Regions from separate parts of the Homo sapiens genome. Here regions 1, 2, 4, 5 and 6 are each linked to region 3. Evidence: promoter capture Hi-C in 16 types of primary human blood cells and fetal thymus (Javierre and others, 2016). All regions are on one chromosome and are shown on one strand. The core of a region is centred on a gene start or on the middle of the fragment in contact, and the rest is flanking DNA. Distances in the headings are between cores, read along the strand shown. Region 1 overlaps TRAF6 (TNF receptor associated factor 6). Region 2 overlaps LDLRAD3 (low density lipoprotein receptor class A domain containing 3). Region 3 holds the start of FJX1 (four-jointed box kinase 1). Region 4 holds the start of TRAF6 (TNF receptor associated factor 6). Region 5 has its middle 48 kb from the start of COMMD9. Region 6 has its middle 30 kb from the start of COMMD9.

Region 1 (2,726 bases), core at 41-2,540, 870 kb before region 3:
ATTTAAAGAAAGAAAAAACTAAGATATATATATATATATTTACACACTGTGAAATGAGGATCTCAAGTGTCCAGAGATTGGCTGAAAGAATAAGAGGGAACAGCGAAATAAAGGAAGGCAGTTCTGTTCAGTAGGAGAATAATATTTGTAGCTGTAATCCCTGAGGCATACAGGGAAGTTTTCAGATTTTTAGGACCTGTAGCCCTTCTGTTCAGTTGTCCTGTAGGCCACTGACCGGGCATCATTAGAAGTAGTAATTGTAATAGAAAATTATATGGTGGGGTTTTTTTGTTTCTTGAGATAGAGTCTCACTCTGTTGCCTAAGCTGGAGTGCATTGACACAGTCATGGCTCACTGCAGCCTCAAATTCCTGGCTCAGGCGATCCTCCTACCTCAGCCTCCCAAAGAGCTGGGACTACGGGCGTGCACCACCATGCCCGGCTAATTTTTTATTTTTTTAGATTTTTTGTAGAAACGGGGTCTTGTTATATTGCCTAGACTGGTCTCGAACTCCTGAGCTCAAGCAATCTACCTGCTTTAGCCTCCCACAGTGCTAGAATTATAGGTGTGAGCCACCAAGCCCAGCCCAAAGATTGTTTTGACTATTAGTAGAGAAAGGAAAATTCCATCTGATTGCTATCTTCTGACATTTGGGGAGTTTACCCACAAAATATGAATATTAACCATTAAATATTTATATACCCATGAAATCTGTAAACCCAGAGATCATTATTGATATACCTTACTGAGAAGCAGCAAGCAAAACCTGTCACTGGACAAGTTTGTTAACCTTAAAACTTTTTCATTGGTTTGTTAACAGTCTCTTAATTTTTCCAACAAAGCCTTAATTTGAAGGTGTTAAACATCTTTTGCTTATGAAGTCCTAACTCGTTTTCCTTTTTGCTGTCTTTTAACATTTAAAGGAAACCATGCAACAAATTAAAACCCAGCAAAAGAAAATACAAGAAAAAACCCTAGGCTAAGAGTCAGAAAACCTGGGTTTTAGTCCTAGGTTTAAACTGTGATTTTAACTGTGCCCTCTCATCTTTAACAAGTTGACATTCTAAATAGATCTGGGATCAGCAAACTGGCCTGCCAGCTAGATCTGTCTCTCTACCTGTTTTTGTAAATAAAGTTTTATTGAAAGACAGTCATACCCATGTGTGTATGTCTTGTGTATGGCTACTTTTGTATGACAATGGTAGAGTTTAATACTTAGGACAGAGGCAGTACAGCCCATATTTACTATCTGATCCTTTACAAAAAATTTTATTGGCCCCTGTTCTACACTGTTCCCTCTTGAGAAATGAAGGATTGAATTATAATAAATGGTCTCTCAGGTACTTCCTGTTTGAAATATCTACAACTATAGCTACATTAAATTTCTAAAGGGAATTTGGCACCTCTTTGAAAAAATATGATTGAGTATAAAGGATCTTACCTTAGAGAATGTGTCTTAGAGTCCCAAAATCCAGGACTGAGACTTTTTTTAGAGCTTCTATTAATGTGTTTAAAGTACCTTCTAACATCTGAGTCTCCCCATTGTAGCTAAAATATGCCCAGCTTAACAAAAGTTAAGAAGATTGTTGAAAGGTGGTCAAAGATGATTTTTGAGAGGTGGTCATGAGGCAAGTATGGGTGTAGTCAGTGGCTTCAGTGCATGCAGTTGACTGGTTCCTATTAAATGGCCTAGACCATAGTGGGAGTCTTAATCCAGTTTGCACTTGTAGCTATTGTTAGGTGTTTTTTCTGTAAAGTGCCACTAGAGGGTGCCAGTTCCCAGCAAGAGGAACAAATTCATTTTCTTGAAATGAATTTTGGATAATTGGAGGGGATATTATGAGATGTTGATATTTCCTTTCTCTATAACTTTTGAAAGTAGATGTTCTTTTAATTTTTGTGGGTGATGGTTTATGCTGCACCTATTCAACTGCCAATGTGGTACAAAGCAGCCATTGACAATACAGTTTAAATGTGATCGCATCAAACTAGAAAATGATATGCAAGGAAGAGATTTTTCAGCCTTTGTTTTGGATTTCAGATGCCTAATCATTATGATCTAGACTGCCCTACAGCCCCAATTCCATGCACATTCAGTACTTTTGGTTGCCATGAAAAGGTAAGGTTTTTTTTTCTTTTAATTCTTGAATATAAGTAAAAAAAAATATTTACATCATGTAGTGGAGAATAACAACAAGAATGTAGATGTAGTTGTAAAGCAGTGTAATAAGTGATATAATAGAGTTATTCATGGATGCTGTGAGCAGAAGCAAAGGCATACTTAGCAATGCCTAAAGCATTCAGACAGACTTGACAAAACATGATGCTTTGGGCTGAATCTTGACAGGTGAAATAGTTTTCCAAGAAGACAAAGGAGAGAAGACCAGTGAGAAAGAGTGAGCATGGTGATTTGAGGAACTACAAGTAGTTTGTGTTGTGCTAGTTCAACCCAATAGCAATGTAGATGATTTGAGGTGGAGGTGGGGGTACTAGTACCTGAGCTGTTGGAATACCTAAGTGAAGACAGCTTGAATTATGGCGATGACCGTCAAGATAGACCTAGGAGCCAGTACATATTTAGGAGAGAAGATCTACTGCCTGTGTGACTAAATAAATGTGATGAGTGAAGGAGAGGGAGGCGTCTAGAATGACTCTTGGTTTCTGGCCTTTGTCACTGGGTAGATGGAAGGGCCATTCGGCAAAAAAGAGTGAACACAGGAAGAACT
Region 2 (2,916 bases), core at 371-2,870, 560 kb before region 3:
TATTCAGAACGCAGCAGAAAGAGACACAAAAAGAGAAAATATGGACGAGAGGTTAACAGATATGGATTGAGGTGATCTAAAGGAAATTCAAATTATGGTGCAGAATCACCTTTGGAGCTTATTAAAACATGGATTCTGGGGCTCTAATACCACTCTTTTGATTCTTCAGACTAGGTTGAGTCCCAGGAACATGCAATATTAGCAGGTGTGGTGTCCATCTATACTTTGAGAAGTATTAGAGTAGTGACATCTAGGTGGTAAAGTTCAGAAGTTAATTTTTTCTTCTTGTCCAAACTAGACTAAGTTTTTCACCCTTCACTGACTGCAACCTTTTCATCCAGCATAGCTGGACAGAGTGTGCAATATTTCTCCACGTAATATGGTCAACATGTTTTACTTTAATCCAATAGAGGTTTAGATAGGAAAATCAAAACATATTTTGAAAACCAGTATTTCTAACTTTCCAAAGCAAAAAATCTTTTACAAAGCAAGTAATCACACCCTAGTTCTGCTTTGAGTAGGTTGAAATTTATTACCTTTGCTTAAATTAAGGTTTGTAAAAGTACATGCTGCTTTTCTTTCATTCACACCAGCTTGTGAAGTGTCTCCCAAAAGTTAACTAACACCGTGTGTCTAGGGCTGGATCACTTAAGCTCTCTGGGTCTCCCACCTTCCCACCATCCCACCGTCTACGTCCCACCATCTACAGTGCCTGGGACCCTGTAAGTACTCAAAAACTAGAAGCCATTATTCATAAATGATAAATTCAATTTTGTATTGTGGTCCCAACTGGATAGGCCCCCTTCTTGTTTCCTCATCCCTTTAAATTCCTTGTGCTTCTTCAAAGACAACAACTTCTTGACACAACTGTCTTAGCCTAGCTCCTTGGTTTAATGCTTAATATCAGGCTCTGCATGTGTTTAACAAAAACCAAAAGCTTGCATTATTAAACTGAGACACACAGCCCCCAGTCATTCCAGGAATGCCTTCCCAAAGACACAGAAGACAATAGATGAAGGGGGATGTCTGTGGTTTGTCATCATGGTCTTCTCTGCAGAACGGTAGCATGCACTATTAGGGGTCTGCAAGAGCTTCAACAGGGAACTGAAGGTGAGTGGCAACATTCCACAATCCCTACTCCAGGGGAAGTGAACAAGGGGCTTGTGGAACTTCAGATACCAAGAGGAGGAGCAAATCTCCTAGGCCTGCAAATGCTCTAATAAGCAGCCAACGTTGCCAAGATTGGAGCCCACTCACTCCCTGTCTTCTTGAAGGGGAAATCAAATGAGGAGAGAAAAAAAATAGTTTGTTGAAATGATGCCAAAATTTTGAGCCAAGAGGACCGAATTCTGAAGGTCACTCAAAGGTACTGTACTTCTACCTATATTTCTCTACTTTCTAAGTCTCTATACTACCTTTCTTTTTTTTTGCGGGGGCAGGTGGAGGGGAGAGTGGTCTTCTTGCTCTGACAAACCTATATACCTCTTGGTGATAAGCACTATGTAGTTTCAAGCCTCATATATTCTATCTGGAAAGGACTGATTCACAAACAACCTCACACCCTGGACACAATTCCATCCTGGGGATCATTTCCAAGCAAGAGGAATGCGGAGTCACCTCCTATTTAAAGCTGATCAATTTCTTTACCTTCATTCTCCTCACTTCAATGATTTGTTACTGGCTACTTCCACCACTCCTGTCTAGATAAGCTCCTCCTTTCTGTTATCTGCAGGCTCAGATCAGTGTCAAGGCCAAAGTCAGAGAGGGAGGGAAGGCACAATAAGATGCTTCCTAGCAGCTAAGGTCACTCAGTCTGACTTTTTATTTCTGATGCTTTGGGTCAATTGTGAGATAAGGATGTGCATATGTGTATTACAGAGAGAGAAACAGTGAGAGAGAGAAAGTGTGAGAGACAGAGACAGAAACAGAGAGAGAGAGGAGACGGTTGACAACTGACTTCCATCCTCTCATCCCCACTCAGGGCCTTCTAACTAACAATTTAATGACACTTACATTTTCAAAATGTTATCCAACCATTAGTAATTGAGGACCTTTTCAGAAACAATGTTGGGCTGCCTTCTCAGGAGAGAAGGAAAGCTGTAATTAGAAATACGGCAGTGTATTCAAAGAGGCCACATTTAATTAGTCGATTTTAATTTAATTTAGGTAGGGTCTATATAAGACAGCTCATATCCAACCCCACAGCAGGAGATGCCAGAGGCGTTTCGGAGGCTCCATGTGAAAACCTAGGGTGCTTGTTCCCAGGGACGGTCTGGACTTTGGAGTCTGAAGGCCTAAGCTTGAGCCCCTGCCCTCAGGAGCTTGGCCTTGGAAAAGACACTTCACCTGACTCTGTTTCCTCATCTGCAAAATGTGGATAATAAAGCTACCTACATTTCAAAGGCTGATAACAGGATTACTGGGAGGTGATGCTTATCCAGCACTTAATTAGCTCAGGGCTCAGGACACAGTAATTTGTGGAAAAATAGCTGCAAAAAGACAGAGAACAATAAGCAGGGGTAGTGAGGAAGGCTTATTTTTTCACCTTAGTCCTGTAATTCTTAGATTTTTTTTTTTTTTTTTACCATGTGTAGGTATTACTTTTGTAATGAAAGCTAACTAGTTATTTTAAAGACTAGCCAGAGTTTTGAAGTGGTGCCAGCAGTTAATACATTTTATTGGGAGAGGTCAGCATCTGATCGTTAAAAAGTTAACATTGAGCCACACACGGGGACAAGAGTCACCAATCTCTGCCCGAGATCAGCTACCCAAGGCCACACTGAATTTCAGGAGGTAATATATCCCTAGCTGAGTTCCTGATGTGTTCTTTCTGCAATGTGTGCCCCTGCCCCATCTCTGTTACTGGTAGCTCCGTCCTTCCATTTCTTTAGGCCAAAAACCTTGGTGCCATCCTTA
Region 3 (3,003 bases), core at 1-2,500:
TCGTTATACTTGTCCCACATGCCTGCTACCCGGTAGCCGTGCACCAAGCCCGCCTCATTGTCCAGAAAGACCAGCGCCCCGCCCGGACCGCGGTGCAGGTTGCTGGTGGCACGCTGCATGACGCGCGGGTCCCACTGCAGGCTGAAGAGGTTGCTTACGAGCCGGTCGAAGTTGGCCGTCAGGTAGTCGAAAAGGATTAAGTCGGTCCATTGTACTAGGTCCACCAGCTCCGCCTGGCTGAGGTTGGCCAGCTCACCCCCGGCATCCCGGAGGGGGCGCAGACGGCCGTCCTCCGAGCGCCAGGGCGCGGGCACCACCACGTCCGTGAGGTTGGGCAGCCAGCGTGTCAGGCTCACCACGCTGCCCTCGGTCCAGTGCGCAGCGCGCAGCTCCTCCTGCACCTGCGCCCACTGCGCGCCCCGAGCCTCCACCCGAGCCAGTGCCAGCGGCGGCACGTGGCGCTGGAGGCCCAGCAGGCGCGCCAGATAGTAAGACAGGGCCTCGCCCTGAATCTGCTCCGGGTTGATGCCGTAGCGCACGCAGGCGCGGGTGCCGTCGGCAAAACGGGCCAGTCGGTTGGAGCTGCGCCCGCAACCCCCGCGCTCCAGGGCCACCATCCGGGCGCCGCGAGCCGCCTCCAGCCACGCCGCCGCCTGGGCCTCCGAAAAGCCCGGGGGCACCTGCTCCTCCAGGCCGCGGCTCCAGAAGACGCCCCCGTGCACCGCGGCGCTCTCCTCCGGCCGGGGCTGCCTGGCTGACACGTGCCACCTGGGCTCGCTCCGGGACTGCCGGGGCGGGCCGTCCGCGCCGGCCGCCAGGGTGAGCAGCGCCCGGAAAGTTTTCAGGGAGCCGCCGCGGGCGTCCCACGCCAGGGGCGGGGGCAGAGGGAAGCGAGGCGCGGGCGCGGGGCCGCCGCTCCGGGCCGGGCGCCGTGGGAGTCGGTCTTCGGGCGGCCGGGAGGCGGGCAGCTCGGTCCGCGGCGGCAGGAGCCCTCCCCACAGCGCCAGCAGCGAGCCCAGCGCCAGCAGCCAGAGCCCCGCGGTGGCGGCGGCGCCCCGCATCCTCCTGCCCATGCTCCCGCGGCTGTGCCGGTGCGCCGCCGCCGCTTCAAGCCGAGCCCAGGCACCCGGGTCCCGGCGGCGAGGCGGGCCCGGCAGTTTGTGGGCTCCGGGGCTTCGGGCGCTTCGGCCCCATCGCGGCCGCGGGGCGCTGCGGGGCTCTGTCCGGCGCTCCGCCCGGCGCTGGGAACTCGAGTCCCCGCCGCTTCCCAGCTGCTTTTGTATTTCGCTGTGAGACCCTCCGGTGGGCGCGATTCACAGGCGCCCGGACCACGTGGGAGCCAGGGGGATCCCCCTCCCCCTCCTCCGCCTCCGCTCCCCGCCCCCCGCTCCCCCGCCCCCTTCCTCTCCTCTTCCACTTAAAGCGGCGATGGCTCCTTCCGAGAGGGAGAGGCGGCCCCACACTCGGTCCGGGACTTGGGGGCCTGGAGGAAGCCGGACTGGCTGCGCCCGCGCCGGGGCGTAGGAGGGGGTGGCGCAGAGCCGGAGTCTGGGGCCTGGCGGGAGGGACGCGCCCTGGGCCCTCGCGGGGGTGTCTTGGTCGCCGGGTCCCTTTGCCTAGGCAGCGCGGGTCTCCTGCAAACTTCAGACAGATTTCCACCTCTTTCCGAGCTCCGCCAGGCTAGGATCAGGCAGGGTCCCTTTGCTTTCTCAGTTTCTGTCTGGGTGATTCACGCTGCTTTATGTAAATCTCTGGGAATGTCTCCGAGCCACAGAGGATGTGATTCCAGCGGAAAGAGGAACCCGCTGTAGCCAACAACTTTGAACCGACACTCCCTTTTCCGAGCTCGCACATCAGCACCAATCAGTATTGGCCGCTCTGCCTTTCCCAACGGACTCCCAGGGAATGAAGCCTCGCTGTGCACGTGCCCCTTGAACACCTAGGCCATCTCCCATTCATTCATGCATCCATTCAACACAGCGACTGCCCCTCAGTTCTGGTTCTGCTTACCAGAAGCAAAATCCACAGATCCGGGTCCCAGTGCTGCTGAAATTTACATTCCAGTGGGACTCTCAGGTTGCTAAGAGAGATTATAGCCATCCAACCTCGTGTTGGGGAGAGGGGAGTCAGGGACGACTTTTCGAAAGAAATGATACCGTTTTGTCCATGAGGAAACTGAGGCACAGAGAAGGGATGGGTGTTGCTCAGGATTGCACAATTAGCAAGGGGCGAAGCTAAAAGTCAAACTCAGGTCTCCTGGCCGCATGCACTTGATTTTCCCTCCATTAAGAAAGATCAGTATTTTTTTTTTAATCAAGTCAGCATTCTCAAGTTTGAAATTCACTGTCATTTGACCACTTTGTTCCCCAAATGTGATTTTTCAATTAAAAGGATTTTTCAAATGGAAAGGAAAAAAACCTCAATCCCATACTGCATTTGATTTACTGCTTTTACGATTTAAGGGAAAAAGAAATGGTGGTGGTGGTGGGGGAGGGAGGTGGTGAAGGAGCAAAGAAAACAAAATGAACAACCTCTTCACCCCAACACATCTTCCAGCCACCTCTGGGTTACATTTACCAGGAAAACTTGGATGCCAGTCGGCCCTCCCTTACCTCTCTGTATCAGAATGAGTCCCAGATCCACACTGAGATTCCCAGGGTAGACACAAGATCAGGGGCATGGTGGAATCCACCTCTCAAAGGCCAGAGTTTGAAATCTGTTTCCTTACATGGTGTGTATCTTTTCTCTCCTTTCATCTTCCCATCAGGTGCACATGGGGGTTTTCAACTGGACTACCTCATCAGTTGGCACTGATTATGTTTTATTCTCCAAAGAAAAAACGTTCTAGGGTGATAGAGCGTTCCAGGGTGATAAAGCAGACACTCTTATGTTTATGGCTGAGCAGAGGCATCAAAAAACCACATTTGGAGTATTGCAGCACTGACCCAGGATACAGTCAAGTGTTTTCACTGGTGTGGTTAAGTACATACTGGATGAACTGTT
Region 4 (2,700 bases), core at 169-2,668, 890 kb before region 3:
GCTGGGTGGTGAGCACACAGATGTTTGTGCTCTTTTTATGTCTTAAGTGTTTCAAAATACAATCTTTTAAAAGGGGGTTGACAGAACCTGAGAACCAGTGATAAATTCTTCTTAAAAAGAGAAGCATTTTTAATGAATATTGGCAGCCAGAAAGTAGGACATATAGTATTGGTAACATTTATTGAGCCCATACTATGTCCTAGTTTTGGGTTTATTTGTTTGTTCGTTTGTTCCTTGAGACAGGGTCTCACTCTGTCACCCAGGCTGGAATGCAGTGGTGCAATCATGGCTTACTGTAGCCTTGACTGCCAGGGCTCAAGCCATCCTCCCACCTCAGCCTCCAGAGTAGCCGAGACTACAGATATGCACCACCACACCCAGGTAATTTTTAAATTTTGTGTAAAGATGGGGTCTCACTATGTTGCCCAGGCTGGTCTCAAATTCCTGGCCTCAAGTGATCCTCCTGCCTTAGCCTCCCAAAGTACTGGGATTATAGGCATGAGCCTATTTGTGCCTGGCCAGATAGTTTTAAATAATTTCTTTACATATTTTATCTCATCCTTCCAACAACCCTGTGAGGTAGATACTATTATTATCCCCATGTTAATACGAGATGAGAAAACTGAAACAAGTACAGATTAAGTATTTTACCTGAATCACACATTTATTGTAGGAAAAACCGGATTGGAACCAAGCATTCTGGCTTCAGGATACATACGCATGACTACTATCCTGGAAAACCTCCCCTAAGAGGTGGACGATGAACCAAATATGCAGAGGTGGATGAAACTCTTTTGTGCTTCTCCAGCAAAACGCGTGGTACATTCTCTAGACGTTTATGACCAGTTAAACAGGGAATTTAAAATAGTTTTCCCATGACAGAGAAAGACAAAGCGCTGGTGTTCTTGGCAGGAAATTCAAAGAAATATTTAAGGCAAGGGCTGACTCCCTTGGACCGGATGAAGGGGAAGAGCAGGTAATAATAGAGGGTTCTATGGATCGCAGAAACTTCCTGGGCAAGGAGGGTGGAGCTGGGGAGGGGTTTAAGAATTCCTGAAGGTCAAGCGATCTAGCCCAGCTGGGGTTTTCTCCTGCTTGGAGAGGGGTGCTATAAAAGCGCAGTTTGGGATTACTACTGTCGCCACTGCTCACCAAATTAAGTTATTCCGGGAGGGATCTTCTCGTCGCCATCCTCATTCCAACACACACCCATTGACACACTCGGGTTCGGCTGTGCGGTGCAACGAATTCCCAGGTGGGACACCCGAGCAGGAAGAAAGCCAGGCTGCGGGGCTGGGGGCGCCGCCCGGCCCGCGCCACAGTCCGCCTGGAGGATCACCGCCAGGGGGCACTCTCTCCGAACTCGGCCGCTCTGTCTCCTCCCCGGCGCGCTCCCTGCCCCTCGCTCCCCGCAGCCAGCAGAGAAGGCGGAAGCAGTGGCGTCCGCAGCTGGGGCTTGGCCTGCGGGCGGCCAGCGAAGGTGGCGAAGGCTCCCACTGGATCCAGAGTTTGCCGTCCAAGCAGCCTCGTCTCGGCGCGCAGTGTCTGTGTCCGTCCTCTACCAGCGCCTTGGCTGAGCGGAGTCGTGCGGTTGGTGGGGGAGCCCTGCCCTCCTGGTTCGGCCTCCCCGCGCACTAGAACGGTGAGTCTCCTTCAGGCGCCTCCTCCTGGCGGCCGCCGCCTCGCTTCCCAGCGGTCAGGGACGCCGCCCCCCGCCCCTTCGCTCTCGGCAGGTCGGGGACGCAGTCCCTGTCCCCTCGCTTCCCACCAGTCGGGGACGCCTCCCCTGTCCCTTCGCTTTTCACAGGTCAGGGACGCCGCCCCTACCCGCTTGCTTCCCACGGGTCGGGGACGCCGCCCCTGTCCTCTCGCTTCCCGCTGGTCGAGGACACCGTTCCCTGCCCCTCGCTTCCTGCAGGTCGGGACGCAGCCTCTGTCCCCACGCTTCCCACAGGTCGGGGACACCGTTCCCTGTCCCCTGACCTCTGCTCCCCAGGCCTCCTCTTCCTCGCTCATTCCACCCCCTAAAAAACCCCGCGTCGCCTTACTCAACCTCGCTCCCCTCAACTCCGCTTTTTCCCCTTCCCAGATAAGGAAATTGCCTCCTGCAGTTGTCCGCTCCTTGGAGCAAACACCTGCTTAAATTTTTAAAAAATCCTTTACGTTCCTGGCGACTCCGGCTGTCACTGTCATGGGAAAGCTATTTTTGGATTCCCTGTTGAACTCTATAGAAGTCTCAGGCAGCGAGTTTAAAAAAAAAAAAAGGCTCAGATGACACGAATGTTTTCTCCCCCGCCCCTAAACTCGGTAGTTCGAGCGATTGTTCCAGACGCCGGGTTGATAAAGCTGTTCCTAGTATTTGGCTTAAGGGGAACTCCAGCTGAGTTAGGACTGTCTTGAATGTGAACAGAAAGCACCTAAATAAAGTATTAGCAGCTTCGCTGTATGGTATTTAATTGTTTCTTTCTCTGAGAGCAGATTACTATTACTGAATGTCTTGTTACACAGGTTCCATGTAGAAACGAGAAAAACTGGTAAAGAAATTCTGTGTTGGCCTTGTGAACTTGGCCGCTATCATTTCATTCATTCTCCTTTGATTACTAGGGAAGGGAGAGGGGCTTTTCAAATTTTGAGGTTGAGTGTATAGGCAGGAACAATGTGGCCTCTTTTGTGACTCTAGGAAGGAGTCCGGCATGTGGT
Region 5 (2,933 bases), core at 333-2,832, 620 kb before region 3:
AGGACCACACAGCAAGCTAGGAGTAGAGCTGGGATTGAAATTCAGGTTCACTGCCTATGAGGTCCATGCTTGTTCTACTGCTCCAGGGCCCACTGTCTATATGTAAACTTTCCAGTGGAATTGCTTCTGTTCTTCCCCTGAGTCTGGTTCTGGGAGCTCTCTGGCTCTCTTGCATCTCCTCTCTGATGGTTTGGATTTGGAGTATCAGGAAGAAGAATGTGTTGGGAGCTCAGCAGGAAATATCCTTTGCCTGGGTGCTCTGCGGCAGTTTCTGGGAAAAGTCTCCTCTACTGCAACACCCCAGCCTGGGAGCAAGGATATCCAGCTCCAGTGCCTGTAAGTTGGGGGTTAGGTTTGAAGCAATAGCCTCTTTCTTCCTTTCCTGAATTCTGGCCTATAATGTATCAATACAGAGAACTGAACAAAATGGGGCTTAAAAGTCAGGTTCGAGAGTACGCAACCAAGACTGAGGCCAAATGAAGCTTTTCTTTCTACCTCTATCTGTGATGTCTCTGCAGAAATGGCCACACTGAGCATTCGATCTAGTTCCAGATGGAAGAGCTGTTGTCAGAGAGCAAACACCTGGCTCAGGCTTCCAGCAGTGGACTCTGCAGAGTCTGCTTTCCACCCAGAGATGGAGGGCAGGTATGCTCAGGGCACCTGTTTCATATGGTCCCATCAACTGGCAACTCTCCTACATGCATGCATCAGATAAGCTAGCCCTCCTCCAGCAGGGAAGAAGTAGCAAGGAGGGTGGAGAGAGAGCAGGTTCCCCTTTCAATGAGCCAGTATGGGGATGTGCAGATAGCAGGAACAAGAATCCTTTGGAGGAAGTAGCAGATGATTAGGGAGAGACCAGCTCAGTCTCTCAAAGGCTGGGGCCTTGGCAGATGCATGGGTAAGGTGGAAAGGGAACTTGGACCCAGACCATTGGGTTAAGATCCTACCTACCGTCATCACTTATGAGCTCTGTGACCTTGTGTGCAAGTTATTTAACCTCTTGGCTCACAGGTTTTGCATGTGTAAAATGGAGATAAGAGTGCCTATCTCATGAGATTGCTGGGTGGATTAAATGAGATAATGCCTTTAGAGCACCTAGCCCAGTGCCTGGCACAAAGGAAGTGCTAAATAAATGTTTATTTCCTTCCATAGTGGGAGGGTGGAAGAGGCGAGATTCTGAGACACAAGTCATGAGCTTAATCTGCTGTACTTGGTGTCATGTGGGCCCAGGACACTGCAGTGGATAAGCCATGGAGTACAATCCAAGAAAGTCCCCTGAAACTCTCCCCTCCACTCTGCCCCGTGAGCTGTTAGACCACACAATCTCTGTCCCCTGAACTCCTTCCTCTCCCCTGATGGCCTCTGTCTAGTTGGAGAGATGCTGAGAATATGCCCAGCATGAGTCCACCAGGCACCTGCCAACTGCCTGTCCCCTCCCTCCCTGCTTAGACAGATCACCCTTGTCAGACGCGGCAGCATCCCGCTTCATCACTCTAATTGCAGTGTGGTTTGCGTTCATCAAGGAAACAGCAGGGATTCCAAATTAAATTCCAACATGCAATTTAGTCAAGATATAAGGCCTATTGAGATACTATCTTCAGAATCCTCCCCCAGCCCTTTCTTTGAGAGGTAGAATTTCCCTGCTGTCAGTGCTGCCAAGCCCCATGCCTGTCTACTGGGACCAAGACTCTCTGGAATGGGGATTCTCCCTGGGCTGCTGGCCAGTTTCTCTCCCATTTTACAGACAGGGTTGTTGAGGCATAGAGAAGGGTCTTAGACACGGAAAAAGCCCTGGGGTGCATGGAAGCCAGGACTGGCCTGGGCTTGTCTATCTTTGGGAATTGTGCATAACAGAGTATCTTTCTGGCATACCCTGAGATGACAGAGGAGCCCATTCTGAGTGGTAGGAAGGGCCATGGATCTCATTGTGAAGAGCAGAACCATTCTATCAGCACTCGTTTGCTTGAAAGAGGCTTCTGAGCAGGGTGCAGGCACAAACCCACTCTCTCAGGCTTCATACCAATGGGCCAAGCCCTTCCTAGCAGACCTCTCGTCCAGGGGCTTCCTGACTGCTTCCTGCCCCCAGTTTCTGCCAACTCTGAAATGTTTCATGACACCAGAATTAAGATGACAAAGTCAGTGGGAAACCACAGATATGAGTGGGTGTGGTGGCTCACAGCTGTAGCCCCAGCATTTTGGAGGTGGAGGCAAGAGGATTGCTTGAGACCAGGAATTCGAGACCAGCCTGGGCAACATAGCAAGACCCTGTATCTACAAAAAATAAAAAAAATAAAAAATAAAAAAAATCCAGGTGCGGTGGCCTATGCCTGTAGTCCTAGCTACAGGGGAGGGTAAAGCAGGAGGATTGAATGCTGCAGTGAGCTGTGGCTGCATCACTACACTCCAGCCTGGGTGACAGAGCGAGACCCTATCTCTAAAAAAAAAAAAAAAAAAAAAGAAAGAAAAATTAAAAAAAGAAAACCACAGATGTGAAGAAGCAATTAAACTGGGAAGTCGCAGAGTGAGGACTGTTCTTCTGGCTCACTCCTTTAGTTCTGCCCAGACAGGCAGTGGGTATGTGCCCAGACTGAGAGCCTCTCTCCAGAGGAGCATCTGCCACGGCACCATCCACAGTCTGTGGTTGTTTACTGCCAGAGACAAATCCACCCCAAGTAAGCTTTGGACTCAGATGAGAAGTACAACAAAATGCCAAAACACCCTCTGGGGTCCAGGGATCCCTGCAGTGGGGGTTGGGGTACAGGGACACCAAAGTCATGTGAGCCGAAACCCTGGAAACTCAGCTAAAAAGAAGAGCTTCTGCAAAGCCAGCCCTGCCTGGCAAAGCTGCATTTCTCCAGAGGCCCTGGATTCAGCCCCGAAAACTGCACAGATTTCCAACCATTTGGTAGAAGGAGAACCATGGCTTTAGGGAA
Region 6 (2,700 bases), core at 64-2,563, 640 kb before region 3:
TGATCTCAGAGTTTTTTTGTCTCTATTGAGACACAGTCAGAGCCTGTTCTGGCCCAGGGCAATGATGGGGAGGTACAGGGGTTGTGGACCATGTCAAGGGACCCCCGGGGAGGCTGAGCTGGGGACATGACATCTGACTGAGACTGGAAGCATAAGTAAGAGTTAGCCAGAGGGTAACAGCTCTTGCTATCTTGGATGGCTGGGAAGGGATATGCAGAGATCAGGAATCCCTAGTGCTGACTCGGGCCAGGCAGCGTCAGGAGTCTCAAGAAAACAAACCCTGGAGATTGGCAGGTCTGAGAGCAGGGCGGGGGGCCACACCAGTCTCGTTCACCTTCTATCCCCAGTGCTTAGTCTTTGGCACGTGGTAGGTCGTTGGTGAAAGGTTGAGGGGAAGCACATGCCATGGGGACTGGAAACCCCATCCCACTCATGTCACTGCTGAGGGTCATCACAAGAAAGCCCCCCAGGCCATGGTCCCTCTGAATGAGAAGCGTCTACGGATAGCAGCGGCAGGACTATTTGCCCTGCTAGTCTCCCCTCCTCAGACCTCAATTGAGCCTTTAGCTGCCCCAGTGAACATGTCCTACTGGCCCAGCCTCAGTTCTGCTCCCTCCCCTGATAAAGGAGGGAGGGACACAGGGAAGATGGCCAGGCAGAGGGACAGCGCATGCAAAGGCTCAGAGGAGACAGTGAAGGGCTCAGAACTGACTGCAGGAATTCACGCTCATTCAGTCTGGCTGGAACCTCCAACTCATGGGCCTGTAATTCTTTGATTCCTGTTTTTTTTTCTACTAGGCTATGAGGTTTATAAGGGCGGGGCCTGTGCCCTTTTCCTCCATCCCTTTCTCTTTTTCCTCCCTCCCTTCTTTTCTTCCTTCCCTGCTTCTTTCCTCATTTTGCCTCTTGGCTATATCACTGGTGTCTCAAATATTGGTGAGTGAGTGAGTGAATGGACTTAGGTCTGGGAGGTTGCCCCAGGGAGAACCAAGTCTTGAGTGGTCTGCATTTGTTCTGAAGCTCTTTCTCCTCTCTTCTGTCCCTCTCCACCAGCACAGTGGTTCCCAGGGGTGCCTCTACAGCACCTTCATGCCGTCTCCAGCCCAGCAGTCCCCAGCTGCTCCTGCATGCTGGAGGTGGGGCTGCTGGGAGCCTGGCCAGCTGTGGGAGAGTAGGAAGAAGTGGGTCCCTGCTGACCTGTCCTTCCTTAAGCTTTGTCCTGGACCTTTTCCCTCTGAACCTTGCTGCCGACGAAGATGGAGCACCTGCGGAAGCTCTGTACTCCATCCAGACAAACAGTGGAAGCTGCACGGATAGTCCTCCCCAGGGCTGGAGCTGCCAGGGCTCAGAGGCTACCACAACACAGAACTCTGGGCCTCACTACACACGTGTCCTGGCCTCATCCTGAAGCTTCTCACTTTTCTAAGCTATGCATTCAGCGATTCCTGCAGGGGGAGCACTAGTCCAGAAAGAAGGCCCGCCATCAGCTGCCCAGTCCCGGGGTAAGTCGCCTGCCCTCCCATCTGCTGAGCCCTGGGATAAAAGAGACTCGCTCATGCTAGGAATGGGGCTGGAATCAGGTACTCCTCCCAAACCCTTTTTATCCTAGACAGTGCAGACCTGGCTGTGATCTGCCTCCTTTCCTCAGAGCCCCACCCTGTGGCACCGTCAAGTGAGGCTCCTTTGTGATCGCTCCCTCACGAGTTGTAAAGAGCGGTTCTCTTCTCTGTTCACAACGTGGGGCCATTTGCCATGCCCTTCAGTCCCACTGTCCACACTAGTTTAGGTGTAGCCCTCACCTGGACTCCTGACATCCTCCTAACAGGCTTCACCCCTTCTGTTGTCCCCTGAAATCCATTCTGTGCCAGATGGCTGAGTGGTCACTTTAAACCCATCAGATGTCATCACTCTTACACTTAAAACCTGCCACGAGGCTCACCATAACACCTGCGCTCCTTGTCCCAGCCTCCCCGGCTCAGTGGGCCCCCTCTCCTCCCTGCACTTTCCCCAGGCATGCTGACCTCCCTCTGTTCCTCAATCACATTGAACTCCCTTCTGCACAAGACCTTGGCACCAACTCTTTGGTCACCCTAGAATACACTTCCCCCAGATCCACATGTGGCTGCGCAGGGTTCAGCCCCAGTGTGACCTTCTCAGGGAGGCTTCCTTGACCACTCAACCCAAAGTCACAGAGCATCTTTTTTACATATCACACTTGCTGAAATGATCTTGTTTGGCATTGTCTGTGTACTCCCACTGGAAGACAAGCTCTAGGAGAGTGTGAACCCTGTTTGTCATTTTCACTGTGGGGTCCCCACCTTCTGGAGCTTGAATTCCCTTCTCTTTAGAGCTCTGCGGGAGCTATATCTTTGTCACGGTTCTGAATCTTTTCAACAAACACTTTTGTTAGGCAGGAGGTCCAGCAGCCCCTTGCTTTTGGTTTTCAAAACTTAACTAAGATTCACAAATTAGAGCTCAGATCCAATCTCAGAGGACAGAGAATACTCCAGTTGATTGGCTTCTCTTTCTTTGATGTGAAGCCCTTTCATTTCTCCTACCTGCCTGCTGCCTTGCCCCACGCCATCTGCCTCCACCCTCCACAGACGGGCCCCTGGCCCCAGCCCTACTCCCTTGCCACCCATCCATCAAAGGAAGACAAGATCGGCTCAGGAGCCCCTGAGCTTATCTGAATCAAAGAAA

What was found. Contacts are between HindIII fragments. The CHiCAGO score rates a contact against its expected background, and 5 or more counts as called.
Region 1: a fragment that was not itself captured here is called in contact with the fragment with the promoter of FJX1 in region 3 in 2 of 17 cell types (naive CD4 T cells and total CD4 T cells); the score reaches 6.5 in naive CD4 T cells.
Region 2: a fragment that was not itself captured here is called in contact with the fragment with the promoter of FJX1 in region 3 in 1 of 17 cell types (erythroblasts); the score reaches 5.2 in erythroblasts.
Region 4: the fragment with the promoter of TRAF6 here is called in contact with the fragment with the promoter of FJX1 in region 3 in 9 of 17 cell types (naive CD4 T cells, monocytes, total CD8 T cells and 6 more); the score reaches 10.8 in naive CD4 T cells.
Region 5: a fragment that was not itself captured here is called in contact with the fragment with the promoter of FJX1 in region 3 in 11 of 17 cell types (M0 macrophages, erythroblasts, naive CD8 T cells and 8 more); the score reaches 8.5 in M0 macrophages.
Region 6: a contact is called between a fragment that was not itself captured here and the fragment with the promoter of FJX1 in region 3, in 16 of 17 cell types (erythroblasts, megakaryocytes, M0 macrophages and 13 more). The highest score is 25.5, in erythroblasts.

Annotation. Positions count from the first base shown.
Region 1 is chr11:36,491,944-36,494,669 of GRCh38, reverse strand. It overlaps TRAF6 (TNF receptor associated factor 6), which reads left to right. Exons shown (of 7, transcript NM_004620.4): 6 at 2,042-2,119. Among named protein-coding and RNA genes, the nearest start is that of TRAF6, 17 kb to the left of the region's middle. The HindIII fragment of the contact is 9,692 bases long and covers 1-2,726 here.
Region 2 is chr11:36,180,898-36,183,813 of GRCh38, reverse strand. All of the region lies in intron 4 of LDLRAD3 (low density lipoprotein receptor class A domain containing 3), which reads right to left. Among named protein-coding and RNA genes, the nearest start is that of COMMD9, 110 kb to the left of the region's middle. RefSeq lists a silencer at 981-1,275. The HindIII fragment of the contact is 1,362 bases long and covers 940-2,301 here.
Region 3 is chr11:35,616,707-35,619,709 of GRCh38, reverse strand. It overlaps FJX1 (four-jointed box kinase 1), which reads right to left and starts at 1,250. Exons shown (of 1, transcript NM_014344.4): 1 at 1-1,250. The coding sequence starts at 1,073. RefSeq lists enhancers at 1-295, 296-930 and silencers at 503-772, 783-1,042, 1,063-1,132, 1,230-1,391, 1,213-1,542 and 1 more. The HindIII fragment of the contact is 8,334 bases long and covers 1-3,003 here.
Region 4 is chr11:36,508,990-36,511,689 of GRCh38, reverse strand. It overlaps TRAF6 (TNF receptor associated factor 6), which reads left to right and starts at 1,418. Exons shown (of 7, transcript NM_004620.4): 1 at 1,418-1,642. It also overlaps a transcript of RAG1 not described here. RefSeq lists an enhancer at 1,550-1,599. The HindIII fragment of the contact is 10,105 bases long and covers 1-2,700 here.
Region 5 is chr11:36,239,571-36,242,503 of GRCh38, reverse strand. No RefSeq gene overlaps it. Among named protein-coding and RNA genes, the nearest start is that of COMMD9, 48 kb to the left of the region's middle. The HindIII fragment of the contact is 2,195 bases long and covers 485-2,679 here.
Region 6 is chr11:36,257,699-36,260,398 of GRCh38, reverse strand. No RefSeq gene overlaps it. Among named protein-coding and RNA genes, the nearest start is that of COMMD9, 30 kb to the left of the region's middle. The HindIII fragment of the contact is 198 bases long and covers 1,215-1,412 here.